7 separate regions of the Homo sapiens genome follow, and regions 1, 3, 4, 5, 6 and 7 are each linked to region 2. Evidence: promoter capture Hi-C in 16 types of primary human blood cells and fetal thymus (Javierre and others, 2016). All regions are on one chromosome and are shown on one strand. The core of a region is centred on a gene start or on the middle of the fragment in contact, and the rest is flanking DNA. Distances in the headings are between cores, read along the strand shown.

What was found. Contacts are between HindIII fragments. The CHiCAGO score rates a contact against its expected background, and 5 or more counts as called.
Region 1: a contact is called between a fragment that was not itself captured here and the fragment with the promoter of CCNG1 in region 2, in 15 of 17 cell types (non-activated CD4 T cells, total CD4 T cells, total CD8 T cells and 12 more). The highest score is 30.9, in non-activated CD4 T cells.
Region 3: a contact is called between a fragment that was not itself captured here and the fragment with the promoter of CCNG1 in region 2, in 1 of 17 cell types (M0 macrophages). The highest score is 6.2, in M0 macrophages.
Region 4: a fragment that was not itself captured here is called in contact with the fragment with the promoter of CCNG1 in region 2 in 9 of 17 cell types (activated CD4 T cells, M0 macrophages, naive CD8 T cells and 6 more); the score reaches 21.8 in activated CD4 T cells.
Region 5: a fragment that was not itself captured here is called in contact with the fragment with the promoter of CCNG1 in region 2 in 1 of 17 cell types (M0 macrophages); the score reaches 6.1 in M0 macrophages.
Region 6: a fragment that was not itself captured here is called in contact with the fragment with the promoter of CCNG1 in region 2 in 16 of 17 cell types (activated CD4 T cells, naive CD8 T cells, non-activated CD4 T cells and 13 more); the score reaches 32.3 in activated CD4 T cells.
Region 7: a contact is called between a fragment that was not itself captured here and the fragment with the promoter of CCNG1 in region 2, in 1 of 17 cell types (M1 macrophages). The highest score is 9.1, in M1 macrophages.

What each region holds. Positions count from the first base shown.
Region 1 is chr5:160,501,090-160,504,046 of GRCh38, forward strand. No RefSeq gene overlaps it. Among named protein-coding and RNA genes, the nearest start is that of MIR146A, 17 kb to the left of the region's middle. The HindIII fragment of the contact is 5,828 bases long and covers 1-2,957 here.
Region 2 is chr5:163,436,262-163,439,140 of GRCh38, forward strand. CCNG1 (cyclin G1) reads left to right here and starts at 1,334. Exons shown (of 7, transcript NM_004060.4): 1 at 1,334-1,543. It also overlaps a transcript of LOC105377700 not described here. RefSeq lists enhancers at 939-988, 1,430-2,007, 1,699-1,898 and a silencer at 1,179-1,258. The HindIII fragment of the contact is 4,161 bases long and covers 69-2,879 here.
Region 3 is chr5:160,664,434-160,667,348 of GRCh38, forward strand. All of the region lies in intron 7 of ATP10B (ATPase phospholipid transporting 10B (putative)), which reads right to left. Among named protein-coding and RNA genes, the nearest start is that of MIR146A, 180 kb to the left of the region's middle. The HindIII fragment of the contact is 971 bases long and covers 1,151-2,121 here.
Region 4 is chr5:160,451,810-160,454,839 of GRCh38, forward strand. No RefSeq gene overlaps it. Among named protein-coding and RNA genes, the nearest start is that of MIR3142HG, 15 kb to the right of the region's middle. The HindIII fragment of the contact is 7,393 bases long and covers 1-3,030 here.
Region 5 is chr5:160,757,547-160,760,364 of GRCh38, forward strand. The region is part of intron 2 of ATP10B (ATPase phospholipid transporting 10B (putative)); the gene reads right to left. Among named protein-coding and RNA genes, the nearest start is that of ATP10B, 93 kb to the right of the region's middle. The HindIII fragment of the contact is 5,998 bases long and covers 1-2,818 here.
Region 6 is chr5:160,476,429-160,479,364 of GRCh38, forward strand. The region is part of intron 1 of MIR3142HG (MIR3142 host gene); the gene reads left to right. Among named protein-coding and RNA genes, the nearest start is that of MIR3142, 3.5 kb to the left of the region's middle. RefSeq lists enhancers at 1,061-1,609, 1,194-1,488. The HindIII fragment of the contact is 574 bases long and covers 1,176-1,749 here.
Region 7 is chr5:160,685,597-160,688,661 of GRCh38, forward strand. It overlaps ATP10B (ATPase phospholipid transporting 10B (putative)), which reads right to left. Exons shown (of 26, transcript NM_025153.3): 5 at 2,204-2,498; 6 at 483-677. The coding sequence starts at 2,478. Among named protein-coding and RNA genes, the nearest start is that of ATP10B, 170 kb to the right of the region's middle. The HindIII fragment of the contact is 3,336 bases long and covers 86-3,065 here.

The DNA of each region.
Region 1 (2,957 bases), core at 423-2,922, 2.9 Mb before region 2:
GGCTTGTTTCTGAGCACTTTCTTGAGTTAAAGGTGATTCCAGGATCCTGGTCTCTGCCATGCAACAAATCCTAACTCCTGGGACCAGGATCCTATTTTGAAATTGCTTATATTCCTATCTCTAGATTCTAGCTCCTCATTAGACTCTCTTGAGTAGGGTAGAAATTCCAATATGGGGAAACAGGTGGAGGAAATCTGATGATCAACCCAAACATCTCAGGACAGGAAGCTGCATCTAGAGTAATGAATACTAATTTCAAACCTATATATTGCATTCGGTGGGTAAAAGTGTGAGCGGTAGAAACAGAAGGCTGGATATCATCAACTGAAGAATGAGGAGGTTCATAAATTTGGAAAGGAGAGCTTTATTTCTCATAAAGGATTGCAGCCTGCAGGGTTGCCATTCTGACAGGGTGGGAAGCATAGCCTCTGGTCAGAAGCCCAAAACAGATACTCTGAGGGTGGGGCAAATGGAATAGAAATTTATGCTGAGCAGAGTGGTCGAATATACATATTCAATAAGCTATCAGAGGAATCATGAATATTTATGAAGGAGAAATATGCACACGTGCAATTGAGCTTCATCCCCCTGCTTGTGTCCCATGTACAAAAAATGACGGTGTTAGCATGATCTAAGGGTGGAGTTTTTGGCCCTTTGACATCAAAAGGTGAAGTAGACAGGAACACCCTTACTGTGCATTCTTTGTAGATTGGCCAGAACCACCCTGTGGTCGGTGGTCTCTTATCGGGCAAAAAAGGAGAGGCAGCATTAGGCGGTAGACTGATACCAGTGGTGGAGTCTTTTGAAAGGGCTGTTTTCTTTTTAAAATATTTTTAAATTTATTTTTTTATTTTCAATAGGTTTTTGGGGAACAGGTGGTGTTTGGTTACGTGAATGAGTTCTTTAGTGGTGATTTGTCAGATTTTGGTGCACCCATCACCAAGCAGTGTACCCTGTACCCAATGTGTAGTCTTTTATCCCTCGCCACCCCACCCTTTCCCCGAGTCCCCAAAGTCCAATGTATCATTCTTATGCCTTTTGTTGTTCTCATAGCTTAGCTCCCATATATGAGTGGGAACGACAATGTTTGGTTTTCCATTCCTGAGTTACTTCACTTCATCCAGGTTGCTGCAAGTGCCATTATTTCATTCCCTTTTATGGCTGAGTTGTATTCCATGGTGTGTGTGTGTGTGGCTGTTTGAGTGTGTGTGTATATATATATATACACACACACACCATATTTTCTTTGTCCATTTCTTGTTTGTTGATGGGCATTTGGGCTGGTTCCATATTTTTGCAATTGCAAATTGTGCTGCTATAAACATGTGTGTGCGAGTATCTTTTTCATATAATGACTTCTTTTCCTCTGGGTAGATACCCAGTAGTGAGATTGCTGGATCAGAAGGTAGATCTACTTTTGGTTCTTTAAGGAATCTCCACACTATTTTCCATAGTGGTTGTACATAGTTTACATTCCCACCAACAGTGTAAAAATGTTCCCTTTTCACCGCATCCACACTAACATCTATTATTTTTCTGATTTTTTGATTATGGCCATTCTTGCAAGAGTGAGGTGGTATCTCACTGTGGTTTTGATTTACATTGCCCTGATCATTAGTGATGTTGAGCATTTTTCCATATGCTTCTTGGCCATTTGTATATCTTTTTTTGAGAATTGTCTATTCATGTCCTTAGCCCACTTTTTAATGGGATTGTTTGTTTTTTTCTTGTTAATTTGTTTGAGTTTGTATCAGTCTGTTTTCACGCTGCTGATAAAGACATACCTGAGACTGGGAGGAAAGAGGTTTAATTGATCTTAAAGTTCCACATGGCTGGGGAGGCATCAGAATCATGGCAGGAGGTGAAAGGCACTTCTTACATGGTGGCAGCAAGAGAAAAATGAGGAAGAAGCAAAAGTGGAAACCCCTGATAAACCCATCAGATCTCATGAGACTTATTCACTATCATGAGAATAGCATGGGAAAGACTGGCTCCCATGATTCAATTACCTTTCCCTGGGTCGCTCCCACAACGCGGGGGAATTCTGGGAGATACAATTCAAGTTGAGATTTGGGTGGGTATACAGCCAAACCATATCAGAGTTCTTTGTAGATTCTGGCTATTAGTCCTTTGTAAGATGTATAGATTGCGAAGATTTTCTCGCACTCTGTGGGTTGTCTGTTAGCTCTGCTGATTATTTCTTTTGCTTTGCAGAAGCTCTTTAGATTAATTAAGTCCTATCTATTTATTTTTGTTTTTGTTGCATTTGCTTTTGGGTCCTTGGTCATGAAGTCTGAAAGGGCTACTTTCTGTTAAGCCCTTAGGGAAGAAAGGCTAATGATGGTTAATGAGGGAGGGGGTATAATGATGTGTATCTGAGTCTCCTATCCTGTCATGGCTGAGAACTCAGTCTTCAAGTTTACTCTGGGATCCCCTTGGCCAAGAGATGGTCCATTCAGTCAGTTGGTGGGGAAGGGGGGGGCTTTGAATTTTACTTTTAGTTTATGATATATAGTTGCATGACCTTGAGCAAGTTGCTTTTCTCTGCCTTATTTTCCTTGTCTCTTAAGATGAGACTCACATTAGTTGCTACCTTAGTGGATTGTTTTCGGATTGAGACAATAGCACTGTGCCCAGTACATGTTAAGCACTCAATATATTTAAACTATTATCATTGCTATTGTTGTTTTATCTCAATGAACTTCTAAAGTGCCTCTAAGGAGGGTAGAATAGATATTATTAACCCCATTTTACAGCCTCAGAAACTGAAGCAAAGGATATTTAAGACTCATTATGACATCATACTGCTTCACTATTGCTGGCAGGATAAAACTAGGACTTAGTTTTCCTAACTTCACGTGGACCGGACAAGGGACAGGTTCTGTACGTGTGTTCTAGAAAGGGGGACAGAATTTATTTTTTGAAAAGGCAATATAAGCACATAAGTAAAATTCTGC
Region 2 (2,879 bases), core at 84-2,583:
GCAAAAAGTATTTTTAAATAAAATCACTTGTTAAAGGTTATAAATTGCCAATTTATATTCACTAGGTAAGCTTTTATTTTCAAAAGGAACAAAGGCCTCTTCCCCATTTGAGCCCCAGTTTCTTAAACTGACCTGATTATGTGGCTAAGGTATTATTGTGAGGTATTGATGTTTTCTCCTGTTTTTCCTTCCCCTTCCTCCCCACCCCTTTTCCCCCTTTCCAGAGTTTTGTTCTGTGGCATTGCCTTGGGTAAGTACACGGCAGGGCAAATAGCAGAGTGACGGCAAATCTTTCAGATTTTCACTTTTTCAAAGTAAGAGAGACCGAACTGGGGCCATGAGAACAGAGACATCCAACTACTGTGTAATTCATAAGAGTTTAGAAATGACTCCTTGTGCACCCTTTTTCAGGCCCTTTTACAAATGGACTTTTCTCACTTGTGATGATCTGGGAGAGTGAGAGTGAGGAGAGTCTAAGAAGAGTTCAGGCTAATTATTTTCCCACTAATCTGGCATAGGAGAGGCTCACAGAGATTAAATTCATTATGGTAAATACAAAGAGTAATACTGCTTTACACTCGGGTCTGTAGACTGAGATTCACACTCACCACAATTATTCCTGTTAACAGTCTGCCACATACCTTTCATTTTAAGCAACTGAAAAATTGTACCAACTTTTCTCTTTAAATTTGCTTTAAAAGCAAATTCAGAAAATTGGTAGAGGGTCAAGAAATTACACAGTCCAACTCCATTATTTGATAAATTGTATAAAAAGCAAACTAAGGCAAGAATCAACTGACTTCCAAAGTTCACGAAGAGAGCACTCTGGAAGTTGATAAACCACCAAACCATATAAATTCCACCACCTCTTTATCTGTAATTAAAAATCAAAGGTTGACTTTTTTTTTTTTAACTACTCACTGTATTTTTAGAAAGATGGGGCAGAACCACTGTAGAACTCCTAAACCCCACAGAACAAACAGTACATTCTGGAATGATACGCCGGCCAATCCGGCTGGCAGCCGATTGACCTGACCCAGGCGAGGGTTGCTGCACCGAGTATTTAGTTTGGCCCCCTACTGAATGAAGACACTTTGTTAAATTCTCCAATGAGAGACGCTTAGAGGTAGGGGCGTGGAAGGGGGCCGGGGAATTTGAGGCCAGATAACGGGAAGTGTGAGCCGATTGGCCGGACTTCTCACTCCACGGCCCAGCCGTTTACGGATCGCGGAGGCCATCCATCAAAAGAATTACACCAATCAGCGGCGAAAATGCCCCCTTCTCGCGAGAAAGCCCCGCCCTCCAATATATTCCTCGTTAGGGCAGGCGCGGCCCCTTCGGCTCCGAGCTGACCCTGATCAGGGCCGAGTTGTCTCGGCGGCGCTGCCGAGGCCTCCACCCAGGACAGTCCCCCTCCCCGGGCCTCTCTCCTCTTGCCTACGAGTCCCCTCTCCTCGTAGGCCTCTCGGATCTGATATCGTGGGGTGAGGTGAGCAGGCCCGGGGAGGGTGGTTACCGCTGAGGAGCTGCAGTCTCTGTCAAGGTGAGTGGGACTGCGCGGGAGTTGACCGCCAGGTGCGGGTGGGGAGCTGGGTTGGGGGCGCGGGGCGAGGAGTAGGTCTGGCCCGCGCCCTTTTCCACACTAAACTCTACCGCTGTTGTGAGCACAAGCCCAGGCTAGTCCGAGGCTGGAGGGGCGGAGCCGGATCCGGCCTCCTGAGGTGCCTTTCGTGTCTGCCGACCCAGTCCCAGGGACTAGCCTGGGGAGGAAGAATGGAACCCCTGCAGTTAGAGGTTCCTCACATGACTAGCTCTGAAGACCTCCTGCCTTCCTGTCTTTAGTTGGTGTGGGAGGGACCTTCCATGTATCCAGGGCTTAGCTTGTGCCCGGGACATGGTTGTGTTATGCACACTTAAATCAATGGAATTCCCAGGTTCATCTTTCAGACTAGGTTAGCAACAACCCACCGCACCCCCCCGCCCCAATACGTGCTCCTAATGTCACCTTTTAAGTTTCCTTTCCTAACAACAATAAAAGTTAAGTAATATTGAGTATTGTGTGCCAAGCACTGTGCTATACTCTTTAAGTGGTGAATCATCTTGTTCAGTCTTCACATTCAGCGACAGATATTGTTACCCTCATTTTATAAATCTAGAAAGAAGCTCAAGCTCATTATTATTGTTCAGTGTTTTTTAAGCGTCTACTGTATGTGCTAAGCTCTTTACGTGATTTCATTTTAACTCACAAATCTGTGAGGTAGGTCATAAACCTTATCCCTACTTTATCAATGTGGAACTAAGTACAATTAAGTAACTTGAACAGTTCATTTTGTTAATATGTGGCAGAATACTTAACTACCATCTGCTTTTCACTTTCGGTATCCTGTCTTACGGTGTTTATTCGTGGTTATCTATTGACAGTGAATAACTTGAACAAGTATTTCTTGAAGATTTGCATTTTATTTTTCTAAAAAGCATGGTTCCGACCGGGCGCGGTGGCTCACGCCTGTAATCCCGGCACTTTGGAAGGCCGAGGCGGGCAGATCACAAGGCCAGGAGACCGAGACCATCCTGGCCAACATGGTGAAACCCCGTCTCTACTAAAAATATAAAAATTAGCTGGGCGCGGTGGCGCATGCCTGTAATCCCAGCTCCTCGGGAGGCTGAGGCAGGAGAATCGCTTGAACCAGGGAGTCGGAGGTTGCAGTGAGCCAAGATCGTGCCACTGTACTCCAGCCTGGCAACAGAGCGAGACTCCTTCTCAAAAAAAAAAAAAAAAAGCATGGTTCCTTCCCTCTAGGAACTCAATTTAGGATGTGACCAACTTGTAGAAGGGAAATAAATAACAGATGGCACTTTGCAATGACTTAGATGCACTA
Region 3 (2,915 bases), core at 386-2,885, 2.8 Mb before region 2:
CTTAAAAGCACTAACCATTGGTGGCATGCAAGCTAGTCAAAAGGGAGACTCAATGGAGAATTTTTAACCTGAGCAACAAACAGATACATATGATTATTACGTTGATTATTGATGCTCTAGGCCAGTGTCTTTCAAACTTTCATGTACACATGAATCACCTGAGGATCCTGTTAAAATGCAGATTCTGGTTCAGTCTGGGATGGGGCCTGAGATTCTGCATTTCTGACAAGCTCTCAGTGATGCTTACTGAAGTGGCTAGTCCGCAGATCATACTTGGCATAGCAAGTTCCCACTTGGCCCTGGGGAATGATCTGACCCATGCTTCAGTGGGACTTAGGCTTCAGTGATTTGGAAAATAGATAGCCAGGGACATGTTTGATCTGAAACACTAACTGGAAGCATTCATTTCTGATTCTTTGGCTTAGATAACTGTTACATTTATCAAAATGAATGCTATATACTCCTTTCCAGGTGTTAAATTCCTAGGTTAAAACTCTTTTACAGAAGAGGTTTCAGGTATCAGAATGTCACCAAAGAGAAAACTGTACGTTTGAATTCTCTAATAAAGTCCTCTTGCCAGCTGGACAGGTTTTTAGCAAATCCTAATTCCTTCCCTTTCCCCTCTTTTTTTAACAATGGGAAGTGAGAGTGAATCTCTCAAAAATAGGTCAATAATTTTATAAATTCAAAGATGGCCCATTGGGATAAAAGTTCCAATGAAAAAAAAAGTAGATTTAGTCCAAGAAGAATTCTGAGGAAAGGATTTGAAACTAACTCTTTGGCAGCCTTGAGGATAATCTGCAATGTCATGGGAGAAAGACCCTTTTAAGAAGTTCTTTAATGTTTATAATTTCATTTGAACCTAAACAGGAAAAGGAAGAATGAACTGCTTAAGCCATGAGGATTGTCAACTTCTTTGTTACCCTTCACCTGTTGTGACCATGTCTGTACCACAATTCAGGCTAATATTTTCTGAAAAGGTCCATAGGAATGTTAATAATATTTGTGCTGAAAAATAATTCTTAGGTTAAATAAATTTGGAGAGCTCAGGGCTAAAGAAAGTTTAACAGGCCTATTGACTCCAGGCTTTCTCAGAGACGTTAATATGTTAATGAACATTGGAACCTGCAAGAGGGGTTCACAGGACAAAAGCTTCTTAATTTGACTTGTAAACTGTAATCTGACTTGACCACGGACCATGAGTTTTTCAAGAACTGTCTCTTGGGACAAGTGCTTAGCAGACTGTGAGAAATGCAGATCTATGTGAGCTGGGACAAAGTATGTCTTACTGACTTTGAATTACCCGAATATAGTAATTCTCATCATCCAGAAGATGGTAAAAATGAGTGTGGGTATATATGTGGGGTTAGATGTTCCTAGTAATCTCTGTGGTTAGTAAAAACCCTTTTGGCAAGGTGAAGGTCTCAAAGACAGTAGGGACTTAGAGGGAGAATAAACTATCAAGAGCCATTAATACTTATTATGTAAGATATTAAATTTCCAAACAAACCATATTTGTAGGTGTTCAAAATCTCTGAGATGATTAGTGAGATTTGCTCTTTCAGTGCCTCAGAGGTTTCATGTGTAAAATAGGGATAGTAATGCCCACCTCCCATGGTGATCTTAGGCTTAAAATAGACAATGCATGTAAAAGAACTAGTATATAGTAAAAAGTACCTAGATGGTAGTTTTCTCCCCATTATTAGGATAAGTGTTTCTGGAAGCACTGGAGATGGCGCCTCTCCTTGGTTGTACAGGTTTTCAAGGAGGTGGTGGTAGGTTTATATCGAGATTGTCTGGGAGAAAATTTTTAAAAATATGCACACTCAAGTCCCTACTCAGTCCTAGTGAGTCATAATTTACTGGTGGTGATACAGAAGGATGCATATATATTGTTAAAAACTTCCCGTGTGATGATTATGATACACCTTCAACACCTGTAATATACTTGCAGCAAATCCCTTAGTGGTAGCCCACCCCTCCTACAGTAGTTCTGAGATGTGTTTCTTGGGATAAAAGTTTCTTGTGCTTAAATATTTAGAAATACTACATAATAGCACCTGTCCTTCTCCTTGGGGCTTATTAAAGTATCAGAGAAATTCTGCAGAACACATATTTGAAAGCTTGTAATCTATTGTCTTCTCATATTACTTGGCCTTGCAACATTTATTTTTCTTGCAACTCTCATCAACATGTTTGTTCAATACGTTAGGGAAATCCTATGGTACCGAGTTAGCCAGAAGCGAGTTCTATCCATACTCAGAAATCTTTCTGCCCTAAAAGTATAAGGGAGAAGCAAGGTCGCAAAGAGCAGCCAAGATGTCTCCCTCCAGGGAGCAGGCTGAGCCCACTTTCATTATCCCTGCCACCCTCTATCTCTATGTGGAAAGAATCCTGGCAACAATAAATGTGTGCTTTCAAGTAAGCATCTCTGTGTGAACGCAAGGTAACAGTTAAAGGGCCAGGGAGATGAAGTACTGAGCCTTAAAAACTGAGGCTCTGGGACCGGGCACAGTGGCTCACGCCTGTAATTCCAGCATTTTGGGAGGCTGAGGCAGGCGGATCATGAGGTCAGGAAATCGAGACCATCCTGGCTAACACGGTGAAACCTCGTCTCTACTAAAAATACAAAAAATTAGCCGGGCGTGGTGGCCGGCACCTGTAGTCCCAGCTACTCGGGAGGCTGAGGCAGGAGAATGGCGTGAACCCGGGAGGCGGAGCTTGCAGTGAGCAGAGATCGTGCCACTGCACTCCAGCTTGGGCGACAGAGCAAGACTCTGTCTCAAAACAAAAACAAAAAACAAAACAAAACAAAACAAAAAACTGAGGCTCTGGACAAACCTGGCTTTGAATCCTGCTTCAACACTTCCCGGCTCAGTGACCTTGGGCAAGTTACAGGACCTCTGTATGCCCCA
Region 4 (3,030 bases), core at 65-2,564, 3.0 Mb before region 2:
TAGGATCAGGCTACTGCACCCAAGCCTGGGCAACATAGTGAGACACTCTCTTGTATATATATGTGGGGGCGGGCGAAGGGGTGGGGGGAGAGAGAGAGAGAGAGAGAGAGAGAGATGCAAGAATAAGAACTTCTGAATACTTTTAAACCAGATTCACCAACTGTAAACATTTTGCCACATTTGCTTCTCTCTGTCTCATTACACACACACACACACACACACACACACACACACACCATATACATTTTTGTAAACTATCTGAAAGTAGTTTGCACATATCAAGCCCTTTTATTCCTAAATCCTCTAGTATATATTTCCTGAGGATAAGGCTAAGGCTATTCTCTTACACAATCAAAATATGGTGATCAAATTCAGGAAATTTAACAATACTATTGTCTAATCTTCAGTCTGATATCACCAGTTACCCTGATAATGTCCTTTAGATAGCCCAGGGCCCTATCTAGAGAGGAGGGAGACTGAAACTCCCTGAAAACAGCTGAATCACAGAGACTCAAGGCAGACACTCAAGGGCAAGGACCTCCTGCTACTTTTCCTTGGGGCCTCCTTGGATTGAGGGCCAGCATCTCCAAGACTGACCTCTGGGATGTTTCTGTTCCTACTGATGCCCCACTGAGGGTCTTGGGTTCCCCTATATATACGCCTTATTACTTCCATAGCACATTCTCCCCCATCTCCATTGCTTAAGGCAAGCCCACAAGTCTTTATTATTTGCAACTGAGAGTAGGAAAGGAAAGAGAAAATAAATGGAGAGGAAGAGAGTGGGATAAGTAAGTAGTGAAACAGCAAACCAAGCTATTTTGCCCTTATAAACCTAGAAATTGCTAGATGACCTTGGACAAGTTACATAACATTTACAAGCATCAGAACCAACATCAAAATTAAACTGGCTCTTACTGTGTCCTAAGGGTGAGACAAGGGTTTTAAGAACTGAAACTTGGGAGCTATTATGATTGGCAAATGGAAGGATGGGAAAAGTCTACAGATAAGGTTCTGTACTTAAGAATGACCCACTTTGTCATACACGTATATCTACTTTCATATGGATATTTGCACAAGGGTTTCTTTTTTTTTCTTTTTTTAAGAGGGGGTGAAAGAAGGAACTCAGTGCACATGACATTGGTGGGGCTGAAATAAAAAACCTCGATTTAGAAATCTGATACAAAAGCAAAGTCATCGTTTTCAAATCAAAACTTGGCTCTGCTTCATTGGCTTGCCTCGTGCTTCTGCACAGGCTTTCGGGGGAGGCTTCCAGGCACATGTGCCTAGAGGCCATCCTTCTAAGTGTGCACACTGGAGCTGTAAGGGCAAGGGTGGCTGCTACCTCACATTGGCACTGAGAAATATCCGGAGAGTGACTCCTTGGCATGAAATTCAAACACCTTATGTGGTGATCTGGTCCCACTTCAGCCCACTCCTCATCTCCCATCCTCCATCCAGCCAAATTCTACCTCTGTAGCTCCTCCACCTCTCAAGGGCCATCATACTTGCTGTTTTCTCTGCTTGAAAAAACATTCTTTCCGGTCTTTGCCTTCTTAAATCCTACTTCCGTTTCTGTGCTCAGCTTTGAAATAACTTCCTATGTTTCCAAGGAAACCCAAACTTGGGGTAGGTGCTCCTACTTGAAATCCCAGTATCCCATGAATTCTCCTGTCTGAGCATGACTGTGATTGTCCATTCACCTGCCTGGACTCCCAAGTCGATTTTATGGTCTGTGAGATCAAGGACTGTGTTTTCTTCACTGCTGTATTTCTGGCTTATAACACAGCAGTTGATACACAATAGGTGCTCAATAAATATTTATTGCATGAATGAAAGAGAAGCAGGCTCAGGGCTTCTGACAGGTTGCAAATTAAAAATAAAAGAGTAAACTGTGTTTGGTAACATGACACAAACCCACTTGTACCCCCATTTCCACCTCCACCTGTCAGGGAAAACTCAGATTTATTGCATTAACTGGAAGTCTGGAGTTGGTCTTTAACTTATTCCTTACCTTCTCTAGCTAAACATCCAACTGGTCACCAAACCCTAGATAGTCCACATCTTAGGGTAACTTAGGTTCTTTCTCATTTCCATTCTCACTTTTGTTGCCCTCCTCACTTCCTTGTTGGGTCAAGAAATTCCATTGTTCCTCAACCTTCAGCATCTACTTTGTTCTAAAAGCTCCTCATCACAGGATTTAAAACTTTACCAAGATTACCCCACTGGTCTCCCATGATGGAGGTACCCATTCCGGGTTCTTGGCCATTCCTTTGACATATTTACTGCTGCATTCTCTTAATTCATGTTGCTTCCTTAGCAAGGAAGTCCTGTTTTCCCTTCTTTCCGCCCCCCTGCTCCCCCTGCCTATTGAAGTTTTACTTATCTTTCAAGGCTTAGCTCAGACTCCTCTTCTAAGCATTTTAATTCTCCGAATCTAATTTGTTCCTGTGTTCAGATAGCATGTTTAGATAGGGAGGAATGGTGAGTTATCAAAAACGAAGAGGTTCCTGATTTTGAGAAAGCAAGTAGAGTTCAAATAGAGGACAATACCTGTCATAACGTTGGCTCACACTTGTCATACTTGTTCCCATTTACTAAGAACCAGGGATGAGCATTTCACCTGCTTTATCTCTTTTATTCTTCATAATAGCTCTATGGGGGTGGGAAGAGGGGGCTCTTTGAATACCCTTATTCTGAGGATAAAGAAACAGAGGTGCTGGGCATGGTGGCTCATGAGCAGCACTTTGGAAGGCCGAGGCAGGTGGATCGAAGTCAGCAGTTCGAGACCAGCCTGACCAATAGGGAGAGACCCCGTTTCTACTGAAAATACAAAATTAGCCGGGCGTAGTATCAGACGCCTGTAATCCCAGCTACTTGGGAGGCTGAGGCAGGAGAATTGCTTGAACCCTGGAGGAAGAGGTTGAGCCGAGATCGTGCCATTGCACTTCAGCCTGGACAACAAGAGCGAAACTGTCTCAAAAAAAAAAAAAAAAAAAAAGGAAAAAACAAAACAAACAACAACAACAACAA
Region 5 (2,818 bases), core at 250-2,749, 2.7 Mb before region 2:
AATTGAAATTGGAGCTAAGTAATCTCAGATCTAGGGCTGGCTTTGTTTTTCACTTGGGTAGTTCACTTAGTCTTCTGAGCCTTTTTTTAAAATGGAATTTTAAACAGATAAGCATAGGAAGACTGGAGAGTCAGTGTGGTATGGATGGGGGGATATATATGGTGGAGGTGTTAGATGTATCATTATTGTTTTCTTGAGACATCTAAGGGCTAATGCAGAATGTAATCCAATTTGTCTTGTGTGGCTGCAGAACAGGATTTCCCAATCTTAGAACTATTCGCATTTTAGGCTGGATAAGGCTTTGTTGCAGGGAACTGTCCTGTGCATTGTAGGGTGGTTAGCAGCATTCTGGCCTCTACCCATGAGATGCCAGTAGCACCCCGACTCCCAAGTGTGGCAACCAAAAATGTCTCCAGACATTGTCAAATGTCTACTAGGGGTAAAATCACCCTGGTTGAGAACCACCATTATAGAAGATACAAATAGTAGTCAGTGTAATAGGCTATAGGGAGTCAACATTTTTAATAGCAGGGGGAAATTAATCATGATCAGAATTACCAATAGTAGAATTAAGCTATCTAGGGTGGGAGTAGTGGTGAAAGTGAATTTTCTATTTTTATAAGCCAACAGTAGCCAATGTGACTATCCATCACAGCGGGTATTTAAACACTGGGTAGATAGCTGAAGGAGGTGAAACTTGACCTTTCTGAGCTTGTGTTGTTTTTTTTAATCTGTAACTTGAGTATATAACAATGCCAACACTACAGGTTCCTGTGAAGATGAAATGAGGTAACACACATACAGCCCTCTGAACAGCATGTAGCACATACTACATACTTGATACATGGCAGATATTATTATTATAGAGGCCGAAACATGCACTTCAGAAATACATCCCTATATCAGAAGGCTTTCATCTCTGTTCACTGTCCTCTTGGTTCCTTTACAGGAGAAGAGAAGATGCTTATCTGACTGATCAAAACATTGACATGGAGGGAACTAGGGGTCAAGATCATTGTATCCTGAAAAGCTCCAGCCTCTTTCCCGTACTCTGTCTTCCAGTCTCTGTGATAAACAGATGTAGGCAGCCAGGCCACTTGGGGAGACTGCTAACCTCTCTCTTTTCTGACTCCATGCCCACAGATGGGTGAGTAGACTTGGGTCCCTTTTGGGGCCTGGTTATTCCTCCTGTCCTGCAGGGTCATGTTTTGGAACATGGGAGTCAAGATTTAGATGGAGAGTAGAGAAAGAGAGACAGGGCAGGTAAGAAGAATAATTTAGGTCTCAGTAAACCTTGTGAATCAACCCAACCTTTTTATCAGAGCTTTGAAGCATTTTCACAGCTATCAATAATGTAACACTGTCCATCCTTTTTCACTGTCTGCCATGGTACATGATTTTCTTGGGAAACCCACAATGCAGTAGGATGATTAGCAGAGCTGGATTTGGGCTTTTTAGGGTCTCAGACTCAGTAACTTCAAAATAATAATAAACTCAGAAACACAATCCACAAAAAAATATTATATGATCATTAGAGCTTTTTTTGAGTCATAAAAAATTATGATTTAAGAATCTGGAAAAGAGGTTAGATTTGTCTTTCTGGGCCCTTTCAGATTCTAATCATTTTCTCTGAATTTGCCTTATTATCTGACTTGAATCCAATTCTAGGCACAGACACCATTAAATATTTTGTATGCTTCATAAGAAAAGTCCTGGCTGGTATCTGTCTGGTGGATCTATCTAGATTATAATTTTTTCAAAGCCTCTTCTGGAATGACGATTGACATTTTGAATAACAATTTAGTCCTTAGTTTGTATCATGAAGGAAACACAGGTAAACACGATAACTTATTCCAAGGCTTTAACCCAGATAATCAGAGAATAGTTTTGTCATTCATAAATGATGTGTCTATAATTATCATACACTGAATGCACAAAAAGAAAATAAATGAACAATTTTTTTTAAGATTGTTATTTCTCCATGTGTTTTACTGAACTCAGGAAGGCATGAGTGAATAGCTGAGGCCTTTCTAAATCTGGTCTTTCCACATATCAGAGCTTAATGTTTTATAGACACCTATGGCAATAGGCTGTATAGGAACTGTCAATATGTCTATACCCCAAGGAATATCCATAGGTCTGCTCTTTTCTGTGCTCCCTCCAAGCATGCCTTTTCACCTTCCTCATGCAAACTTTTCATTCCTTACATTCCAACCTCACCAAAGGCTAATTATTTTCTTTTCGGAAACATCTTCCTCCAGAGAGAAAAATCTGAATTTTGTACCTATTTTCTTAAATTCTATTTCCTGTTTCAATATAGTAACTCATCCTTTATTTCCACTCTGGCTGTGCTCCAGAATTTGCTTGTCAATAGGAATAGTGGAGTAATTCCAAGACCCAGCACTTCCACCGCAGCCATTACCGCAGAGGCAACGTGTAGGCCATGCTTACAGGGTCTTGGACTCTGTCTTTTACATTTCACAAATGTTCTTAGAATTGTGTCTTTACGCAATGGAGGAAAGTACCAAGAGTTTTGGAATATGGCTCCCCAAATCTGAACATCAAGAGAGGGATCAAATTTCATCCTATAATAGGCAAATTAGGCTGTCTGAGCACCTTGATACCCTCAGAATATAAGCCAACACCTTTACTTATTAACTGCTAACAGGCACTTTACAAACACTTGTAATAGCAGGCTTGTAGCTCAGCAAAAGGAGGTGTGACCGGATTTTAAATTGTGTGCTTGCATTTTGAAATAAGCAATAACCAAGCAGGCTAGAATTCTTTTTTTCCTTAAGACCTTGCTTCCTGTATAGTC
Region 6 (2,936 bases), core at 213-2,712, 3.0 Mb before region 2:
GTCATCTGAAAGATACTGTGGTCTTCCGAAACAGAATATGTCAGTCAGGCAGAGGATGGGAAGATGACTGAGGACGGGAGGGGAACTTTCAGAGGGCAGAGAGAAGGAGTGGTTAATCATAATAAAAACATAGAATTTGTTATTATAAAATAATTACTCAAGAAGTGTTTTCTAATTGTCTACCATGTACCATGCACTGCTGTTGTGGGACGGGGTAAAAAGAGGCGGAAAATGTGATATCTACCTTTGAGAATTTCACAGTCTCACAGGACTTGCACCTATGGGTGCAAGACCCTGCAGGATCACATGTTAAATTGCGTGATTGGATGACAGATGTGTGGGATGATTTTTTACCCTCCTCCCAGCTGTTTTCCACACCCAACCAAAATATCTAAAAAATACAGCCTGGATCACATTCCTTCTGTGTTTCCTCTGTCTTTAGTTAAGGTCAACTCCATATTTCTCAGCAAGGCCAACATGAATCGGCTCTTGCCTTTCTGGACCTTCCTCTCCTCATGCCATCCCTAGTCTCGTTATTGACCTCAGTAGAGGAGTCTCTCTCCGTCCTCACAAGTGTGCCTGGTCACATCCTATTTGTGACCATTTGGACATTCTGTTCCCTGTGCCTGGAACTCCCTTTTACCTGGTCTTTGCCAGACCATGCTCTACTTATTCTTCAGGGTTTCTCCTTAAATGTCATTTCTTTCCAACTACCAGGTGCTTCATAGAATCTTGAGCTTTTCCACTGGTCGCATTTATCACATTTGGGCTCACTTATCTGTGTGATTATCAGTGAGATTTCAGTCTCTCCTGTTTTGTGATCTCCATGGACCATGCTGGTCTTGTCTGTGCTGCAACCCCAGGATCTAGCACAGGCCCGACACATGCAGCAGGTGCTCTGTAAGTCAGTGATGGGTGAATGGATGAGCAAGGAGAGGTTCCACTGGGTCAGTGCAGTTGTCCTTTCGAAGCACTTTGTTGCTCCTCCTGGAGCCCTTGGTGTGTTGAACTTAGCATCCTGTTTGTCTACCCTCACATCCTCATGAGCTTCCAGAGGGCAGGGATTGAATCATCATCATCTTTTCATCTGGTTCACATAGGAACTCAGTGCAGGTTGTAGGATGAAGGAAAGAATAAACTGTGTACGAATGGAGCGGGCCTTATCTGGGTTTTAAAGCTTGCCTGGGGAGGAAGGTGGAGAAAAAGTGAATTCAAGGATCCAAAATAGCAGTGGGAGCCAGGATGCAAAACAAGAGTAGGGTTTTGTTTTGTTTTAAAGCTGAAAATCTGCATTAGAAAAATACCGGATAGTCACCAGACACAGCATGACAGGATGTACTCATGCTACAAAGATGGGAGGGTTGAGTGGGGGGAGGCTTGGAATTTCCCCAGCTGAACTTTATACCTTGAACAATGTCCATCTTTCAGAGCTTGCTGCTCTCCTCAGGAGTTTTATCCATTCAACACATTTTTATCAAGCACCTATTCCATGGGGAAGATATGCCTCCCCTCAAAGAGCACGAAAATTGGCCCTTAGGAGGTGAAAAAAAACTCTATGTGTAAAGCACAAATATACATACAGTATATATAGACATATAATATATCTGTAGTGTTAACATTTCATAGTGGGGGGATTAGAAAAAAAAAAGTCTGAAAAGGTTCCTTAGAAGGATGATAATGAAAAAAAGATTGAGAAACTGACCTACTCTGTGCCAGGCATTCTTCTGGTTAAAGGGCCTACTCCCATGAAGCTTTCACTCTTACCAGGCAGAAAGACAGTAAACAAATAAGTAACTGTAAACTAATAATAAATTGTATGAGGCAGAAAAGCAGGCAAGGGGCTGGAACGTTTGGGGGATGGGTGGGGCATGTCTGTGTTTCCTTTAGGTAGAGTGGGTGAGGGATGGACTCTGATGAGGTGAGGTTTGAGAAGAGTCTGGAAGAAGTGACAGGTGAACAGTAGAAATATTTTGGGAAAGAGCATTCCAGGAAAAGGTAACAGCTTGGTGCAATTAAGAACAGCAAGGAGGCCAGGTGGGCAGGAGTGGATGGATGAGGGAAGGATGGTAGAAAATGCGATTGGAGGTAGAGGCAGGGGCCAGATGACATGGGCCTTGTAGGCCATGCTGAGGGGTTTGGGTTTTGTTCTCTGTGTGATGTAAAGTTGCTGGAGAGCTTTATGCAGGGGAGTGACATGATTTGATTTATCTCTCCTTTTTTTTTTTTGAGACAGAGTCTTGCTCTGTCTCCCAGGCTGGAGTGCAATGGCATGATCTCGGCTCACTGCAACCTCCGCCTCCCAGGATCAAGCAATTCTTCCTGCCTCAGCCTCCCGAGTAGCTGGGATTATAGGCACCCTCCATCATGCCCAGCTAATTTTTGTATTTTTGTAGAGACAGGGTTTCACCATGTTGGCCAGGCTGGTCTTGAACTCCTGACTTCAGATGATCTGCCTGACTGGGTTTCCCAGAGTGCTGGGATTACAGGCGTGAGCCACTGTGCCTGGCCTCTTTTTTTTTTTTTTAAATACTTTAAGTTCTGGGATACACGTACAGATGGTGCAGGTTTGTTACATAGGTATGCATGTGCCATGGTGGTTTGCTGCACCCAGTAATCTGTCGTCTAGGTTTTAAGCCCCACATGCATGAGGTATTTGTCCTAATGCTCTCCCTCCCCTTCCCCCCACCCTCTGACAGGCCCCAGTATGTGATGTTCCCCTCCCTGTGTCCATGTGTTCTCATTGTTCAACTCCTACTTCTGAGTTATCTTTTAATAAGATCCCTCTGACTGCTATTTGGAGGGTGGACTGCAGAGGCAGGAGTGGAATCAGGAGACCTCACTGTTGCAGATCTCCTAGGTGGGAGCTGATGGTGGCTTGGGTGAGGGTAAACAGTTAGATTCTACGTGTACTGTGAAGGCAGAGCTTGCAGGACCTA
Region 7 (3,065 bases), core at 504-3,003, 2.8 Mb before region 2:
GGAGACACTGCCTGACATCCTCCAAAGAGTTTCTCCTGAACTTAGTCTCCCAAGATAATCCAGCCATCCTAGAGTTTAATTCTTAAGCTTTCAACTCACCTTTAATAATACTGCATCTGTGTGCTTAATAATATGAGTGCTTATACAACTTAAACAAGTTTTCTCAGCCTCAGCACTATTGACATTTTGACTGGTTAATAATTGTTCCCCGGTGGTGTCCTGTGTATCGTAGGCTATTTAGCAGAACCCCCGGATTTTACCCACTAGATGTCAGTAGTACCCCCTACTCCCAGTATGACAACCAAAAATGTCTTCAGACATTACTAAATGCCCACTAGGGGTCGAAATCACCCCCCCTTGAGAATCAGTGAATTAAATAATTTAGGAAAATAAAATCGAAGAAAAGAGACTCATCCTGAGGCTATGCTGATGAGTTTGCCTAACCCATTTGCAAGAGAGAACACAGGGATGGTTTTTCTTACCTTTCATAAATTCGAATGTTGGAGCAGTTTATTGCTTTATCAAAGCGGTGTCTCTTGAAGTCCTCCATGCCATCCTTGATCATGATGACGAACAGGACAATGGCCAATGGTAACATGGTGATTTCTCTGTGGAAGACTTCCATGGAGGGCATCCAGTTCAAAATCACCAGGAACAGGAAATAGAGGTTAGCCCATCTGGAGGGGCAAGCGAAGTGTGAATAAACACTATGGAGAAGAAAAATGTACTTTCTCCCCCATTTCTTCCCTACTGTTTGGCCTTGATCAATTAAACCTTCTCTTTCAGTATCACCTCAAACATTATGGTAATGGATTTGAAGCCAAACCCATCTAGATGTATTTATTATTTCCATAGATTATTGGGGAACAGGTGGTGTTTGGTTACATGAGTAAGTTCTTTAGTGGTGATTTGTGAGATTTTGGTGCATCCATCACCCGAGCAGTATACTCTGCACCCAATTTGTAGTCTTTTATTCCTCTCCCCTTCTCACCCTTTCCCCCTAAGTCCCCAAAGTTTGTTTTGTCATGCTTATGGATGAGACTGGAGATGATTATTCTCAGGAATGGAAAACCATCTAGATTTAAATTCTGTTCCTGTTATTTACTCGTTGTGTGATTTTTTTGAGCTTATTTCCTCTTGCACAAAATGGGGATAGTATTATGGACTTTAAAGGGGTCCCATAAATATTACATGATTTATAATATTTGCATGATATACAGCAGAGGGCTCTGGAGCATAGCAGTTGCTCAGTAAATGGTCACTTATAATAATAATTACAATATTGAGGGTGATATATAAGCACATATTTTAACTTTTAATTTAAAATGATCTCATACATTATCTCAAAAGAGTTGCTGATGTTTTCAAGTTTTCCACGTGCATCTTGCTCTCTCTTGCCACAGTGCCTTTGCATGTACAGGTCTGTCTGCAGGAACATTCTGCTGACTTCTGTCCATCCCTTTTCACTCAGGTAATGCAGTCTCTCTTTCATGTTGTACTTCAATTCCCTGACTTTCTTAACTAGGCCAAGATTTCCTTATTATTCACTATAATAGCACCATATACCTCTCCTTAGAAGTATCTATTGTAGTTACAACTTTATATCAATTTATATAATTAAAAAACTAATGTCTGTCTCTTTTACTAGACAATATATTCAATAAGGACAGTATCTCTCTGCCTCTCCATTTTTTTTATGTATCTCTAGCTCCCAGCTTATGGCCTGAGACAGCATAGAACCTGACAAATATTTGTTGAATGAAAGAATGAATGAAAAAACTTCTTAAGACAAATGCATTTGGATATTAAAGGAAAGGTGGCCCCCAGAGGGTAGCATCTCTGAGTTTATCTAAGTGGTAAATACTTGTTTAAAATATGTATTGGTGGCCGGGTGTGGTGGCTCACTCCTGTAATCCCATCTCTTTGGGAGGTTGAGGCAGGCGGATCACTGGAGCCCAGGAGTTAGAGACCAGCTTGGGCAACGTGGCAAAACCCCATATCTACATAAAAGTACAAAAATTTGCCGGGCATGGTGGTGCACGCCTGTGGTCCCAGCTATTTGGGAGGCTGAGGTGGGAGATTCCCTTGAACCCAGGAGGTGAAGGTTGCAGTGAGCCGAGATTGCACGACTATACTCCAGCCTGGGGAACAGAATGAGACTCTTTCTCTAAAAAGAGTATTGTTCAGACAAGTGGATCTCTACCTATGAAATTGCTCAAAGAGATTCCGGGGCAGGAAGGTGAAGAGGGTGTATTTGGTTGTGCAGGTTCTGTTGCCAGGGTATCTCCTGGAGACCTCTTCCCAATCTTGATGGAATATGCTGTTGTTGGGGAACACGACCCGCTGCTGTGTCAAGTTGTAGCTCTGTCTCCCTTTCTCTGGAGAGAGCAGCGGTGTGGTTTCCGATGGACAATGGGGGAAGCCATCTCTGACTCTCCACTGCCACCGATGCCACGATGAGTCCACTGAGAGGGCCATTTCCAGCAGCAGGCGAAGATCTGAAAACAGACACAGGAGGAGCTATGTTTAGGAGAAACGTGCAGCATGTTGGCCTGTTCATTTCTCCCCCATCCATGCAGGGTAGACACTGAAAGTAGTCTTAACCCACACTTTGACCTACTTCCTTGTAACTAAAGGTCACTAGATCCTGACCATTTGCTTCCCTGTTGTTCCTAAAGATAGGATTTCTGACATTAGAGTCATAAGGATTTTGTTTAAGATTGAGTATCTGAGGTTAGAATCCCTATGTTCTAGGGTGACACACTAAACAAATAATCACATAAATAACATGCTCCTAACACTGGAATACGTGCCATGGGAGCATTGAAGTGGGTGGGACGTGCTTTTGGCCTAATTGGGGCTGTCAGGGATAGCTAAAGTGTGGCTTGCTGGGCTATGACCCTGCAGGTCAGAAGACTAGCTCTGGTTCAGTCCTAGTGGGGAGCTGTTCCTTCACCTTCAACTGATCTCCAGCTTCCTCACTGTGAAATCAGGAACACTATTCTTTCTATACTTATTCCACAAGATTTTTGTGAGGAACAAATTGGATAGTACAGAAAAATATA